Linked DNA regions of Homo sapiens: all the other regions are linked to region 1. Evidence: promoter capture Hi-C in 16 types of primary human blood cells and fetal thymus (Javierre and others, 2016). All regions are on one chromosome and are shown on one strand. The core of a region is centred on a gene start or on the middle of the fragment in contact, and the rest is flanking DNA. Distances in the headings are between cores, read along the strand shown.

Region 1 (3,515 bases), core at 353-2,852:
AGCATCGGCTGCCCCCGCCCCCCGCGCGCCCTCTGACGCAAACGCACGCCCCTGCCCCGCACGGAGGAAAGCGCTCTTGTTGGTTTTAATTGAGCCTCTTCCTTTCAACACACCCCCTCTGTCCCCACCCCTGGGAGGCGACCCCCTCCCCGCCCCCAGCCGGCTGGCAGCGGCGCAGGGAGTCTGGCTCGGCTGCTAGGCTGCGAATCCCGGTGCTCTCTCGCCGCCGCCGCAGGTTGTCTGCTCGGGAGAGCGGCTCGATGTCCCTTTTAATCCGCTGACACTATCGCCCACATCAGACAGGCAGCCATCGATCGCGTTACATTAGGGGATGGCGTTACAAACGGCGTCCGCAGGTGGGCGGCTGCAGCCAAGCTCGCCAGGTTCAGGCCGTAACCAGGCAAGGCGCGGGCACAAGGGCCAGCCGGGCCGGACTCTGCAGCCGGCTCCACCGCGGGTCGCGCTCGGCACCAGCAGGAACAGCCGGGCCGGTGTTAAACGTGCGGGTCCCCGTCCTCCGCCCGGGCATCCGTTTCCCGCCTAGGAGAGAGAGGGAATAGCGGGTGGGGGTGGGAGCAGCCTGTTTTGAATGTGGATTGCTGCTCGCCTGGCACGATCCTCCCCTCCAAGGAGGCGCGGCGGCCGCGATCCTCGCCTTAGCGCTACGGCGAGACAGAGGCCGAGCGAGGGCAACTCCCGAGCAGGCCCCGAAGAAAGTTCTCCTCGTCCCGCCCTGGCTGCCTAGACTCTGCTCTCGGCCTGCGGAGGCCGTGCGAGCCAAGACTGCCTCCCGGCCCTGCCCGTTACCAACCCCAAGTTCAAGAGAAACGACAACCATTATGTTACTTGCCTGGTGAGGCAGGATTTGGCCGAGTCTCGTTTCTGGTGCCCACGACGCACGGTCCAGGGTCCGAGGGCGGCTGGGCCGGCGGACTGGGCATCCAGTGTGCCTGCGGTGCCCTGGCGCTCGCTGTCGCTGGTCTCCCACTCCCTTCGTCTCTCTCCGCGTTCTCCTTCCCTCGCCCTATCTCCCTCTCTCCGCCTGCTGCCTCTGCCCTCGACTCCCTGCCTCTGACTGTATGGGGAGTACGATTTAGAATCTGTACATAGAAAGGTTTTCTTTTCTTTCTTTTCTTTTGGTCTATTTTAATCGTGTTCGTTTCACCTTTTAACTGACCAGAAGACGGGAGCGCGTTTGCGCGTTTATTTGGGCATAGGGACGAGGGCAAGGAGCCCCTGCTACCCCCAGTCGCCTCCTCGCCATCAGCTGCGTACAATGGGCCACCGCTCGCGGAGTGCATTGACAGTTCTCCATTATTCGAGCTGGAGGGGCTGTGGGGCAGGCACGGGAAAACCTTTTATTCTGCTCTTTAAAATCATCGCTCGTCACTAAGCGGTCGCCGACTCCCGACTTGTAGGCTGGAGAGACCAGGAAGCGCAAAACGTCCCCCAAACACGCAGTGCTTCCCAAACCCCTCCCTGGTGAGACTTAAAGTGAGAACGAGTATTAAAAAACAAACCCTACCTCTGTCAATACAGCGTGGCCATTTACTTCCACCTTTACCTGAGGGCGTGTTGGCGCTAGGAATGCTCGAGCTGAGACAAACTTTTACGCCCTCGCGAGTCGAGGGGCGGGCGGGCGAGCGCGGCTCCCACCCCCGGCGGCGGCAGCGGCGGCTTTGTCACTCCGCGCGGCTCCGCGCCCGCCTGAGCCTGCCTAGGGGAGCGATCTCAAAACGAGGGGGGTGCGAGTATGCGATTGGAGAATATGTAACTAATAGAAGTATCATTTTCCCCCAGTACGATCTTTCAAGGAAAAAAAAATCCATTGAAAGAATTTTCAAAGTGCTGTCTTCGTTTGGAGAAAAGGCACAGGCTGCCTGCGGGGAGGGGAGGAGGGACTCGGCTGTGTGCCGCCCGGGAGCGGCTCCCGTCCGCTAGGTGGCAGCCGGAGCCAGCGATTCCTGCAAGCCCCGCCGCGGGACCCGCTCCTCCCGCCTGCCCCTCCTCCCGCGACCAATCACCTTCAGGATTCAGGAATCGGGGTCTCGGTCTCTCTCTCTCTCTCTCTCTCTCTCTCTCTCTCTCTCTCTCTCTCTCTCTCTCTCTCTCTCTCTCCCCCTCTCCCTCTCCCTCTCCCTCTCCTCTCTCCCTCTCCCTCTCCCTCTCCCTCTCCCTCTCCCTCTCCCTCTCCCTCTCGTCTCTCTCTCTCTCTCTCTCCTCTCTCTCTCTCTCTCCTCTCTCTCTCTCTCCTCTCTCCTCTCTCTCTCGGTCTCTCTCTCTCTCTCTGGGTCTCTCTCTCTCTCTCTCTCTCTGGGTCTCTCTCTCTCTCCTCTCTCTCTGGGTCTCTCTCTCTCTCCTCTCTCTCTCTCTCCCCTCTCCTCTCTTCTCTCTCTCTCTCTCTCAATATCTCGCGCGCTCTCCTCTCTCCTCTCTTTCCTTTCCTCTCCTCTCTCTCTGTCTCTCTCTCTCCTCCTCCCCCTTTTCTCTCTCCCTCTCCGCCTCCCCCCCTCTCCATCTTCTCGTTTGTTTGCTCTTTTCCCGGGACTGACTTGGCCACACTAATCTCCCCCCACCCTGCAACAATATGGGGACTTACTACTGTTTTATTAATAATGATTGAAGCATTGTTGGAGTTTGGAACAGCCAGGTGATAAAAAAAAAAAAAAAGAAGAAGGAAAAATTGGATTGATTGGAAAGTTTATTTTTAAAATCATCTTTGGGATAAATAGGAACCCTTGATTCCGATCGAATTTGTGGCAATAGCTGCAAATTCCAGGAGTGTGCTTTGTCATCATTAAACCTTTTAAACCAAGGTATACTTTGGATTAAAAAATAGGGAGATCCTACCCTGTTTCTACTTGTTTCTAAAAAGGATATAAAATGAGCAGAATCCAGACTTGGATTGTGCTTATATGTGAGAGAAGAAAACAATCCAAATCCAGTATATTTCACAAATCATTAAAATGGTGGGGGTTTCATTCCCATTAAAAATTTTTCCAAACATTTTCAATGACACTCTCTTCACGCTCATAAAATCTAATTTTAAAAACTTTTCAGAAGAAATCAAAATAATTTCCCTCTAATTCTCCTTTTGCCCATCGCTAGGCGTTCTCCCCCTCGTCATCCCTTCCCCCTCTGGGGTGTGAGCGTAAGTGTGTGTGTGTGTATGTGTGTGTGTGTGTGACCATAGACGACCCATACTAATCAGGTCTCAGAGTAAATAGCAGCGCAGGGCGATCTCAATGTAAATTGCGCTTGTCAGAAACACACCCCCCTCCCTCACTTTCTCTCCTCCTCCCCACACCATCCCAGTCTGTAGGTAGCTAAGCGGGGGGGGGAGAAAGAAAGCAAAAGAGGAGGGGGGAGGGGCTCTCCAACCAATGGCGTGCAGGAGGCTTGGCTAACCTTAGCCTCCCATTTTCTCTCCCCCCGATTCAGGGCTCTGACCAGTCAGTCGCCTTTGATTATCAGTTGCCAGCAGCCCTTCTCTTGGCTCCTTGACACGAGCTCCA
Region 2 (3,515 bases), core at 536-3,035, 4.9 Mb before region 1:
TAAGCAACTAAGAAATTATTTCCTGCATAATGGCATTCGCAGCAACCTGAATGGAATTGGAGATATTATTCTAAGTGAAGTAATTCAGGAGTGGAAAACTAAACATTTTATGTTCTCACTCATAAGTGGGAGCTAAGCTATGAGAATGCAGAGGCATAAGAGTGATACAATAGACTTGGGGGACTCGGGGAAAGGGTGGGGGGGCAAGGGATAAAAAAAAACTACACAGAGGGTACAGTGTATACTCTTCAGGTGATGGGCACACCAGAATCTCAGAAATCATGACTAAAGAACTTATTCATGTAACCAAACACCATCTGTTCCCCCAAAAACCTACTGATTTTTCTTTCTTTGAGATGGAGACTCGCTCTGTCGCCCGGGTTAGGGTGCAATGGTGCCATCTCAGCTCACTGCAATCTCTGCCTCCCGGATTCAAGAGATTCTCATGCCTCAGCCTCCCAAGTAGCTGGGATTACAGGCACCTGCCACCACGCATGGCTAATTTTTTTTTGAAACAGAGTCTCACCCTGCCCAGGCTGGAGCACATTTTTATGGTTTTAGTAGAGATGGGGTTTCACCATGTTGTCCAGGCTGGTCTCAAACTCCTGACCTTAAATGATCTGCCCGCCTCAGCCTCCCAAAGTGCTGGGATTACAGGCGTGAGCCACTGCACCTGGCCAAAATCTATCGAATTTTTTTTAAAAAAAGAAAAGAAATTATTTCCTGTAGCTTTTTCTTTGAACTTGGATGCATAATTATGGAAGTGAAGCATGCAAAGAATCACATTCATATCACAGTGTTTTGCCCTCTACCCTTCTGTCTTTTATAGTCTTGAATAGAGAACCAAGAGAAATCAAGTCAAGATTTTTAGCTTCTATTAAACCCAAATAGGTTCATTAATCTCATGTAAATTGATGGACAAGTATATGTATCTCATTATAGGTTTTTTAAATGTAATCATTATGCTTTCATGTATTAAGGTGTCACTTTAAGCATTACTTCCTCAAGTAAGTCTTGCCTGGCCACCCATTCTAAAGTAAGTCCCCTTTTATGTTTTATTTATCATAACACTGATAACTATCTGATATTTTCTTTTATTTACTTGTTTACTATCTTTCCTCTTTAAAATGTAGATTCCATAATCAGAAATCAGTAGGACCAAAAGTAGTAACAGGTTCTCAATAAATACTTATTAAATGAAGAAATAAGCTTATATTTTTTAAAAGGAATTCCTATGAACTTGAGCATATAATGGATAACTTGATAATCATGTTTAATTTATGTGTTTATGAAGCATTACTTACATTCCAATTATTTCTAGAATTATATGAACAGTCTCCAACTAGTCTCTCCTCCCTTTCTTTCAACATAACATATTCTTAAATGTGGCAAACTGCAGACATTTTGTGAGGACTTGTTTCAATAACTGAACACACATTAAACAGCTAAAATAAGTTGTCTTCAAAAGCAAATTGCAAACAGCTAAAATAAGTTGTTTTCAAAAGGAAATTACAAAGAGTGACTGTTTCCAGATGTAAACTACTCCATGAGTGACATCTGCTTATTCCTTCCCCCAGTGTCAGTGTCCATACTTGGGCTTGCTATTCTCTGCTCTCTATACTTTCCTTGGCAAACTTCACATATTTTATCATTTTAACCTAATCACAAATGTCTATTGATGCCTTCCAAATAGAATCATACTCCTATATCTGGACTTTCTGATTAACTGGATGATACTGCAAACTCCCCACTTCTGAAAGGAGTTGATTGTTTTTCCTTCCACCCTCCTTCTTCTAGCCACCAAAGCCACTATGGTACTAAGACAAAACGTTAGGTCAAAAAATCTACATGTTGTTCTTTTTAAAATGTCTCTATCACATGTCTTCTCTTCTTTGTTCCCAACTTCAGGTTTCATCACCTTCTCAGATTATTTCAACAGTCTCCAACTATTTCCCTAATTCCCTACTAGGCCCATTGTGGCTCACCTGAATACTGATTACGGTGAAACTTCTTTAAATGCTACTTACCTCATTTTGTTTATGTGGTCATATTTTGTATCATAACACCTTTAAGATTCACTACAAACACCCTAGTCCAACCCACAATCATCTTTTAACAATTACCTCTGCTACATAACTACTTTTCCCTCAACCACACTTTTCTTACTCTACATCAGGGGTGTCCAATCTTTTGGCTTCCCTGGACCACATTGGAAGAATAATCGTCTCGGGCCACACATAAAATACACTAAGACTAATGATAGCTGATCAGCTTTTAAAAAAATCACCAAAAGAATCTCATGTGTTGGGTTGCATTCAAAGCCATCCTGGGCCACATGCAGCCCATGGGCCATGGGTTGGACAAGCTTGCTCTTCATACTTCAGACAGAATGATCTGTTTAAAGTGTAAATAAATCCAAACATGCCACTCCCTTGTTTATAATCATTCAGTGGCTTTCCACCACACTTAGGTCAAAGATCAAAACCCCACAAAGTCTGTCTCCCTCTCTAACCTCATCTTAGTCCATCCTACCTGATTTCCATATATTTCTGTACTCTAATCACACTGAGCTTAAAGTTCCTCAAAATGAAAGCCTTCTTCCTACCTGGGGGCCTTGACATGTGTTGTCTCCTTATCTATAAAGGTCTGCCTGACCCCTTCCCTTTGCTCAGTCATCTACTCCTCCTCTAGTTAACCCTGTCAAACGTTACATCTTAAGGGAAAATTTCCTAACTCCAGTCCTTGTCTCAGACTAGTTACATATTCTCATAATTTTATGTACTTCTTCATTACAAAATGTATCATTCCATAACTAATTAGTTAATTGTGTAATTGTGTAATTGCTGTTTAAAGTCTAGCTTCCCGACTAGAATATTTCATGAGATAGGGCATGAATTGGATTTGGTTTACCACTGTTCTCCCATGCTTGGTGCAGCACTTTGCACACAGTAGCTGTTCAATAAATATTTGTTGAATATATCAAAGAAGAAATCTGAAGTAACTATCTGTAATTTCTATCATCAAGTCTCCCTGCTGGCCAAGTTTCAAGAATATAAATAATCTGGCCTTATTCCATCTATCCACAAATATAATCATCACTACTGAATATAAAACTCTACTGTCTTCTCATTCTCAAAAACGTGCTGTGCTCCTTCATGCATTCAGGTCATCAGTGATCATTTTGTTTTTCTAACCAATAATGCTGTTTCTTCTAACTATCTTAATTCTACAAGTCTTTCAAAGCCCCGACTCAAAAATGCAAATATTACTTTCTCCAAATAATCCTTCATTTGTCATTCATACTAATTTGTCTTTACTGTGGATTTCTATTAATATACTCATTAATAGGTATCCCACAATTTGTTAGTCACTTGAACCTGATCTTAGGTTTCTTAGAGTGAGCTTTTTTTGTTGTTGTTGTTTGTTTGTTTGTTTGAGACAGGGTCTCACTCTGTCACCCAGGCTGGAGTGCAGTGGTGCGATCTCAGCTCACTGCAACCTCCGCCTTCCAGGTT
Region 3 (3,515 bases), core at 520-3,019, 4.9 Mb before region 1:
TTCTTTTTTATAGGCAGTTACAGGTTATATTTGTATTATGCTTGATATATAATATACAAAGGCTCCCTGTAGAGGAGAAGGCTGCACATATAGAAACTTAGAGCATGAATTAGGAGATATGCAACCCACTGCATGCCTACCGCCTAGTAAATAATACTCTATTTTGTACATCACTTGGATTTTATCAAATGTAAATTTTAAAATTACCTTTGGTTGGTTGGATTGTCTATTCATTTTATGCTTCTTTGCAGTCTCATCTGAAAAATAGTCAAGAAAACAAATGATCACAGTTTATATATATGTATACATATGAAGTCATATAGATATTGCTTCATTTAAAATATTGCTATTAACATGATTCCTTAAAATGCCAGAGATTCCATAAAACCCCAGTACAATGTATCCTAGGTCTCAGCACCCACGGGGTTAAATATGCTAATTTGCATTCAAATGGAGACATGCATGATAATGTGAATGCAAAATATGCAGAATCTGGAGGGGTTTGAGAAATTAATTTTTCTTTCTTCTTTTCTTTTATTTTTAGCTTGGAAGGAAGAGGGACTCTTAAAAAAACATTAGGGACTTGAACCTTGTAACCTGCCATACAAAAGAGGAGAGTCCTTCCATGTAAGGATTTTAAGTCTGGAACAAAGTCTTATTTTCTAAATGTTTAAGGAACTGAATTTCCAGGCCTTTCGAACAATGGCAATCCCTGGATAAATATCTACTCCATTAGAAAGATGCAAATAGTTTACTGTAAGGCCACAGCACCGTGAGATGTGCATTCATATCTATGGCTCCTGATTGGCTCTTTCCTCCAGTAAATCAATGAATAATGTAAAACCTGATTGCTGTAAAGTGGTGGATTTTTGAAAATTTCCCTTCCCCCATTCCCTCTCGATCCAACATTCAGGAATTCAATACTCCCCAAAATAGGTTGTTTTTCTTTTATGATTTTTTAATGCTTATTGTTATTTTGGACTGGAGGGGTGGGGCTATTGGTTTTGCAAAATGAAAGTATTGCCCTGGTTTAATTATGCTGACTGTGGGAGCTCGCTTCCTGAGACAGCGCCCTAATTACCGGTGCCAAGGTGGAGAAAGGAGGGTGGTAGACAGAGGTGGACACCAAGAAAGGGAGGAAACGGAACCCGACTCTGCGGTGCTGGGCCCAAGGCAGCCACAGCTCCAAAGGGGCCCCCGGCCGTGGCCGTGACTTGACAGAGCCTCCGGTCTAACTTCTGATCAATTCCACTGCTCTCCTGACCCCTCAAGACAGTCCCCCATTCAAGCACCGCGGGTACATTTGCAAGATAAAACGCCGCAGACACTAATGCAAATACATTGCCCGAGTTCCCATCACCCTGGGTTCCTGCAGATAATTCCAGGCCACAGAAAGGAGTTCTTGCCTTCCTCAGCCGGGTCTAGACTCTAAGCAAACCGCAAAGACCTAGCTCCGTTTGGATACCAGAAGCGTCTTAAGCTGAACCGCTCCAAGTACCAATAACTAACCATGATGGTTGCATCTTGATGAATCTGAACTTGGGATAACCCTGTAAAGCGGCCTCTCACCTCCCAAAATTCAAAAGGCAAAGAGAAAAGGGAAGTGGAAAGCCACCAGATCTACTTAGCTACTGTACTAAGTTTTCCACCAAAATCTAATCAGACCCTCGCTTCCTTGCCAGGTAATTGCAACTTTGGGGCGGTTAAAGGGAGGCGAATTCTTCAAAATGCGAATTCGAATACAGAAGTGCAAAATACAAGTGCATTTTGCTCTAGGTTTAAAAGGGAAAAGCCCCCCCAAACACACCACCACCACCACCACCACAAAATTACATACAAAAATTCCCTTTTCCAACGCGAAGATTTCCTGGCATCTCTCTGCGATTGGGGGTCAAGCCGCTGGATAATTAACAGTACTGGCTAAGAAAACTCACGAGATCAACAGGTTTAACATCCGAGGCACACAATCAATTAGCTGAAGCAAAGCCCCGGACTGGCCCTCGGAGCGGCCCGCAGCGGGACTCTGCGGGCACCGGCTAGCGGGCGAGGTGAGGAGTGCGGGCGCGGGGCCGCGGCGGGCACTGCTGGCCTCGCGCCGCGGGCGAGCTGCAGCCTGAGGGCCGCCACGATACTCACTTGATCTCCCTGCGCCAGGCAATGCTGCCCCCCAAATCCAGCTGGGCAGGAACCGAGGCGCCGGCTGAAAGACAAGATCCAAAGTCACAGCACGGCCGCAGCACACAAACAGGCTTCTTTCGGCGTCTCCAAAAAAAAAAAAAAAAATGTTTTTCTCATCATTCCTCTCCCCTGCTCAACACATTTAAAACTGCCGCTCAATTCCACATGGTGATTCTTGGTTGATTGCGTCTAAAATAGTTTAAATGGGTCTTCCCTTCTGGGGAGAGGGAGAAGGGCGCAAAAGACCAAGGAGTAAAAAAAAAGCCAACTTTTACCCCCCATGCCAGGCACTTGCTCCCTGAGCCTCGGAGTGGAGAGTGAAGTGGTGTGTGCGAGGCTTGGCAAGTTTTTGGGGGGGCTGTCCAAGGTCTAGTCCAGCCCCCTCTGCCGAGGAGGACGTGCTCTGAAACTCAACCAATTTCCCCACTGCTTTTGTTACTGATGAACTGAAGCCCTATTGTTCATCCATTGCCACGGTCTTTTTCAGTCCCCACACTACGTTCTGCGTTGCCAGAGATAATGAATTTGCACCCAAACCTCTCATAGTCCCCTCCTGACAGACGGAACAAATTAGAAATGTCTCGTCTGAAGGAAGGCAATGGCTACATTTTCCTATTGTAGGATGCAAAGCACACATTTCTTTGGAAACTTCTTTTGCTTTTTTCTTTTTTTTAAAATCCTTTTCTTCTCTTTTTCTTTTTTCCTCCAGTTTTTTTTTCTCTCTCTTGGTTTCTTAAGATTCTTCTTTTTTTTTTATTACAGAATCTCCCTGTCGTTTTTCCAATGCACTGTTTTATGTAACTTGTGAGTCTTCCTAACCTTCTTCCCCTTCTTTCCTCTCCTTTCTTAAGGACTCCCTTTGCAATTTTATTTACAAACTTGGAGAATGACCTTTTGACTCGCAGACTTTTTTTTTTTTAAAGGTCTTTTGGTTCAAGTCCCCCTTCTTCACTCCTCCCCGTTTGTGTCGTGGTTGTTAAATGTGTTTAGCTAAAGACAAGCAATGCATTCTAAAGAATTTTATTCTCTAAACTCTAGAGGTATTCTAAATGTACCAGGGACGCGCCATAGGGGTCATCTATTTGAGGAGGAAGAAAAAGCGGGTGTGTGTGTGTGTGTGTGTGTGTGTGTGTGTGCGCGCGCGCGCGCGCGTCTGCCTTCCACGGAAAGAGAGACGGAGAGATGTGGGAGGGTGGGGGTGGAAGTATGCAGACAGAGAAGGGTGGGGGCTTCGAGGGGAAGGTGGGCTTCCTGCAACACAAGCGGAGAGGCTGTCAGGGGTGTGGGCACGGGGGTGCGGGGAGGCGGTGCAGGAATCCGTCCCGCCGAGTGCCGTC
Region 4 (3,515 bases), core at 308-2,807, 4.9 Mb before region 1:
GAGGAACGAAGTGTGGGATGGGGGGCGGCCCCTCATTGGGGGTTCAGGTAGGGATTGGATTCTGCAGGGAATGCTCCAAGGGTTGCTCCCTAATAATTTGGGACTGCGATAAAAAAAAAATAGCCGCAGTTTCGAAGTCCCAGAGCTTTATCAGGAAGCATTGGACGCCCCTTTCTCCTCCAGACTGGGGCGGGCTTCCAGGGATGCCCCCTCCGACCCCGTCACCAGCGGAGGACTCATCTGCCGCGGGGCTGCCGGAAGCTCTCACTCCCGCCAGCCCCCTGGGTGCTATTGATGCGGACCTTGGAGGTGCCTGCGGCGTGGCCTAACACGTGGACGCGGCCCATAACCCGCCCCGGCTGCTGCTTTCGCCTGAAGGCGGACAATGGCTTTATTAATCGGCCATCATTAAACTAACCCAGGAGAAGCCCCATCCCGCAATGAGGGCGCGGCAGGCTAATTTTGCCTACGGCTGAACAGTTGGGGCAAACGGTGGTTAACACGCTGGATCCCTCTCTAGTGAAGGCCCGACCGTCCCGATCTTTGGGGTCCGCACCAATGATCCCATGAAAAACAAAGGTCAGTCCCCAAACTCCTAGGAATCCACACTGTTCCTCTCCAAACTTCCTGCTCCCCGCTAAGGCAAAAGACCCCGAGCCTTGTAAACCCTTTTGTCAGAACGCGAATTAATGTTTCCAAGATTTTTTCTCAAAAGAATTAAGAGCTCTAGAGGCGCCTCTTCCACTCACTAGGGCACCATGTCAAAGGGACTCGTCATGGCGATTTACAAATATCACGATCGTGGACAGCGCTATTGGAATGTAACTTGGGCTTGGTTTCATGCAGTCCTTAAGGATTTCGTTGAGGCCCTGGAGACGTGACTAATTCCTCCCAGTCCATAGTGGGAAATGCTTATTGGGCTTTGGTTGAGATAAAATAAAATAAAATAAAAGCTAGACCCAAAGCTTCGTGTGGACCTTAAACACACACACACACACACACACACACACGCACAATAAGCAAGAGTCAGTGACCTTCTCTGGACATCGCAGCCACCCCCCTAGCTCCCGCGTTAAAATCACCAGAGTCAATTCCCGGCGTCGGTCTCCACAGTCAACCCCCGCCCCTTCCCCATTTCTCATCAAAAGGCAGGAGAAACGTCATATTTTATATTTCTTTTCTCCACATCTGGGCATTTTCTTGTGCATCATATCCTAAACAAATATTCTCCTTTTACATTCGTGTGCGCCTAGGACGGTGTGGACCTGCGCCCCTCTTCCCCGTAGCGACCGTGTTGGAGAAACTCGCTCGGAGGACCAGTGTGCTGCGGGGGCCAAAACTCACGCTGCCCAGCCTTGAAGAGCTGGAGAACGGAGCCGGGCCCCGCCGAACCTGCGCTCGCAGAGAATGTTATCTTCACAGCAACTTAGCAAGCCCCACAGAACAAAAGTTAAAGCGTGATTGCACTATACCTTGCCCCGGGTTACTCAGGCGCCTGTCTCCCATTTTGGACATGCAGGAAATGTTGGATTTGGGGAGGTTTGATTTGGCTGGGTTTGGTTTGTCTATATAAGCCCTGCTGGAGTACTGTACTGAGGAACGCGCCTTGATGGACTCGGGTGTTAATTAACGCGCTAATTTGAGCTTCAGGAGCGGGAGGCGGCCGGTAGCACCGCGAGCCGCGAGGGGCCAGTGACCTCTAGTGGACATGAGGAGATATGCAGCGCGAGTGAGCGTGTAGCAGAGAAAACTCTTTCCTGAGCAGCTGCTCGCGTGTCTCCTCTGAATCCAATGCAAGGGAGGGACACAAGTCCCCAATTTAAGGGAGAAAGAGCCGTCAGCAAGTGGTGTCGACCAAAGACCTTAGCTCTTCTGATGTATCTGAAATCTAAACGCAATTTAAGCGCGCGTGCACACACACATTGTTACTTATCAGTTTTTCCAGCGAGAGAAGAACATATGGAAAGGGTTTGAGAAGTGAGCGTGAATAACTTTGGTTTCTGAACCTAGAGAAAAGCAGGGCTTTCAAAGCTCCGGAGGCACCAGCGATTCAGGGGAAGGAGTCGGAGTGTGATTCTGTAAACAAAGTTCATCAGTACTCCCAAGATTTTTTTTTTTTTCTGTAAAGAATTGAGAAAAAAAAAACGTAAAAAGCTTAGTTGGGTCAACAACAAGAAAGTAATCGAACAAATGATGTGTGGAAAGGTCCAGATGCTCCTGAGTTCACACCCCTCAGGCAAATAAGAAGACAAAAATAAGAACAAAAGAACCCCTTCGCTTAACAAAAATAAAATAAAGGCCAAGAGGAGAAAATGATCTGTTTTGGTTTTTTAACCTTCATTTATTTCATTGGTTAGTTAAACTACTGCAGAAATTTTTGGAAAGATCGTCCTGGTGCTTCTGCAAGCGCCAAAAGCAAACCATGGACCTGATAGTTCAGGCAGAATACCATTTTTTAAAATAAACCAAAGTCTGTATTTTATCCTTCCCCATTCCACAGACCGCAGCAGACTGTGGAAGCTGGCGAGGCCCAGTAGAATCCCGCGACCCCACAGCCTCAGCGCTCAGGGTTCCACGGTCCAGTACAGGCTAAACTGACCTCGCCGACGGCCGCGCCCACTTGGGCACTTCTCCCGGGTCTTGTTCTACGGGCGTTTGAGGATTTCTTAGTCTCTTTCTTCCCTGGCACTCTTCCTCCGAGGCCAGAAGTCTGAATTACTAGCAGCTACCAGCCGCTTGGAGCGGGAACGTGGAGGTGATCCCCTCCCCGGGAGTAGCCTGTCCGTCCCAGCTCTCCTCCCTTCTGTGCCTGGCGGTTTTGCGGTACCCGAATCTGTCCTCAAGGGTTGGGGGAGGGGTGGATATGGGGGGATCAGAGACATTACCTTTTCCCAAACTGTGAGCACAGCCCGCTTGGGGTTGGTTTCACATCGCTCAGGACTGGGGTTCCACGCCTGGAGCGCAGTTACCTTGTTGCGCCCGCATGTGCCTCGGGAAGTGCATCTGCGACCCTAGGTCGGGGACCACCGCGTTAGTGAGGGACAGCCGAGTCGGGGGGCAGTCTCCCCTGGTGGACAGTATGAAGTTTGGACAGCAGGGGAAGGAAGAGAGGAACTGGAGGTTGGGGGAGGCTAGAGAGCAACGTTTGCTCTCTGAACTTTTCCTTCTCCCCTTTGCGCCTTCTGAAATGGCCTGGGAGTTAGCAGAGGTCGGGAAGCTGCTGTAAGAGCGAAACGTTGCCCCACTTGGCGGTGTCCAGGTCTCGCAGTAGGCTCGGGTCACAGGAGGGAGGGGGTAGGGGTTCAGCTCCGCCGAAAGAGTTAGCTACCGTCCCCTCCTTTCTCGGCCGGAGACGTTAAGAGTTCCCGGTGAATGACACCGTCCAGGGTCAGAAGTCAGTGGTGGCTATACTCGGAATAAGGCTGACAGTTCGCAGTGAGGGAAAACGTGTAACCTGGCAGGATGAGGAACACGCAATGAAAATGAACCCAGGGAAACCAAAGATTTCTAAGAGC

The links. Contacts are between HindIII fragments. The CHiCAGO score rates a contact against its expected background, and 5 or more counts as called.
Region 2: a contact is called between a fragment that was not itself captured here and the fragment with the promoter of NR2F1-AS1 in region 1, in 1 of 17 cell types (total B cells). The highest score is 5.4, in total B cells.
Region 3: a fragment that was not itself captured here is called in contact with the fragment with the promoter of NR2F1-AS1 in region 1 in 2 of 17 cell types (total B cells and naive B cells); the score reaches 40.4 in total B cells.
Region 4: a fragment that was not itself captured here is called in contact with the fragment with the promoter of NR2F1-AS1 in region 1 in 2 of 17 cell types (total B cells and naive B cells); the score reaches 30.3 in total B cells.

Annotation. Positions count from the first base shown.
Region 1 is chr5:93,579,617-93,583,131 of GRCh38, forward strand. NR2F1-AS1 (NR2F1 regulatory antisense RNA 1) reads right to left here and starts at 1,603. Exons shown (of 8, transcript NR_186187.1): 1 at 1,526-1,603. RefSeq lists an enhancer at 1,779-1,878 and a silencer at 1,999-2,048. The HindIII fragment of the contact is 7,751 bases long and covers 1-3,515 here.
Region 2 is chr5:88,649,340-88,652,854 of GRCh38, forward strand. All of the region lies in intron 2 of MIR9-2HG (MIR9-2 host gene), which reads right to left. Among named protein-coding and RNA genes, the nearest start is that of MIR9-2, 16 kb to the right of the region's middle. The HindIII fragment of the contact is 1,156 bases long and covers 1,208-2,363 here.
Region 3 is chr5:88,670,829-88,674,343 of GRCh38, forward strand. MIR9-2HG (MIR9-2 host gene) reads right to left here. Exons shown (of 4, transcript NR_152235.1): 2 at 208-257. Among named protein-coding and RNA genes, the nearest start is that of MEF2C-AS2, 3.6 kb to the right of the region's middle. RefSeq lists enhancers at 837-1,449, 1,450-2,063. The HindIII fragment of the contact is 7,016 bases long and covers 1-3,515 here.
Region 4 is chr5:88,689,441-88,692,955 of GRCh38, forward strand. All of the region lies in intron 1 of MEF2C-AS2 (MEF2C antisense RNA 2), which reads left to right. It overlaps GSCAR (glioma stem cell association long noncoding RNA), which reads right to left. Exons shown (of 3, transcript XR_007058863.1): 3 at 2,317-3,454. It also overlaps a transcript of MIR9-2HG not described here. Among named protein-coding and RNA genes, the nearest start is that of GSCAR, 5.9 kb to the right of the region's middle. RefSeq lists enhancers at 1-515, 516-1,195 and a silencer at 1,751-1,977. The HindIII fragment of the contact is 1,189 bases long and covers 964-2,152 here.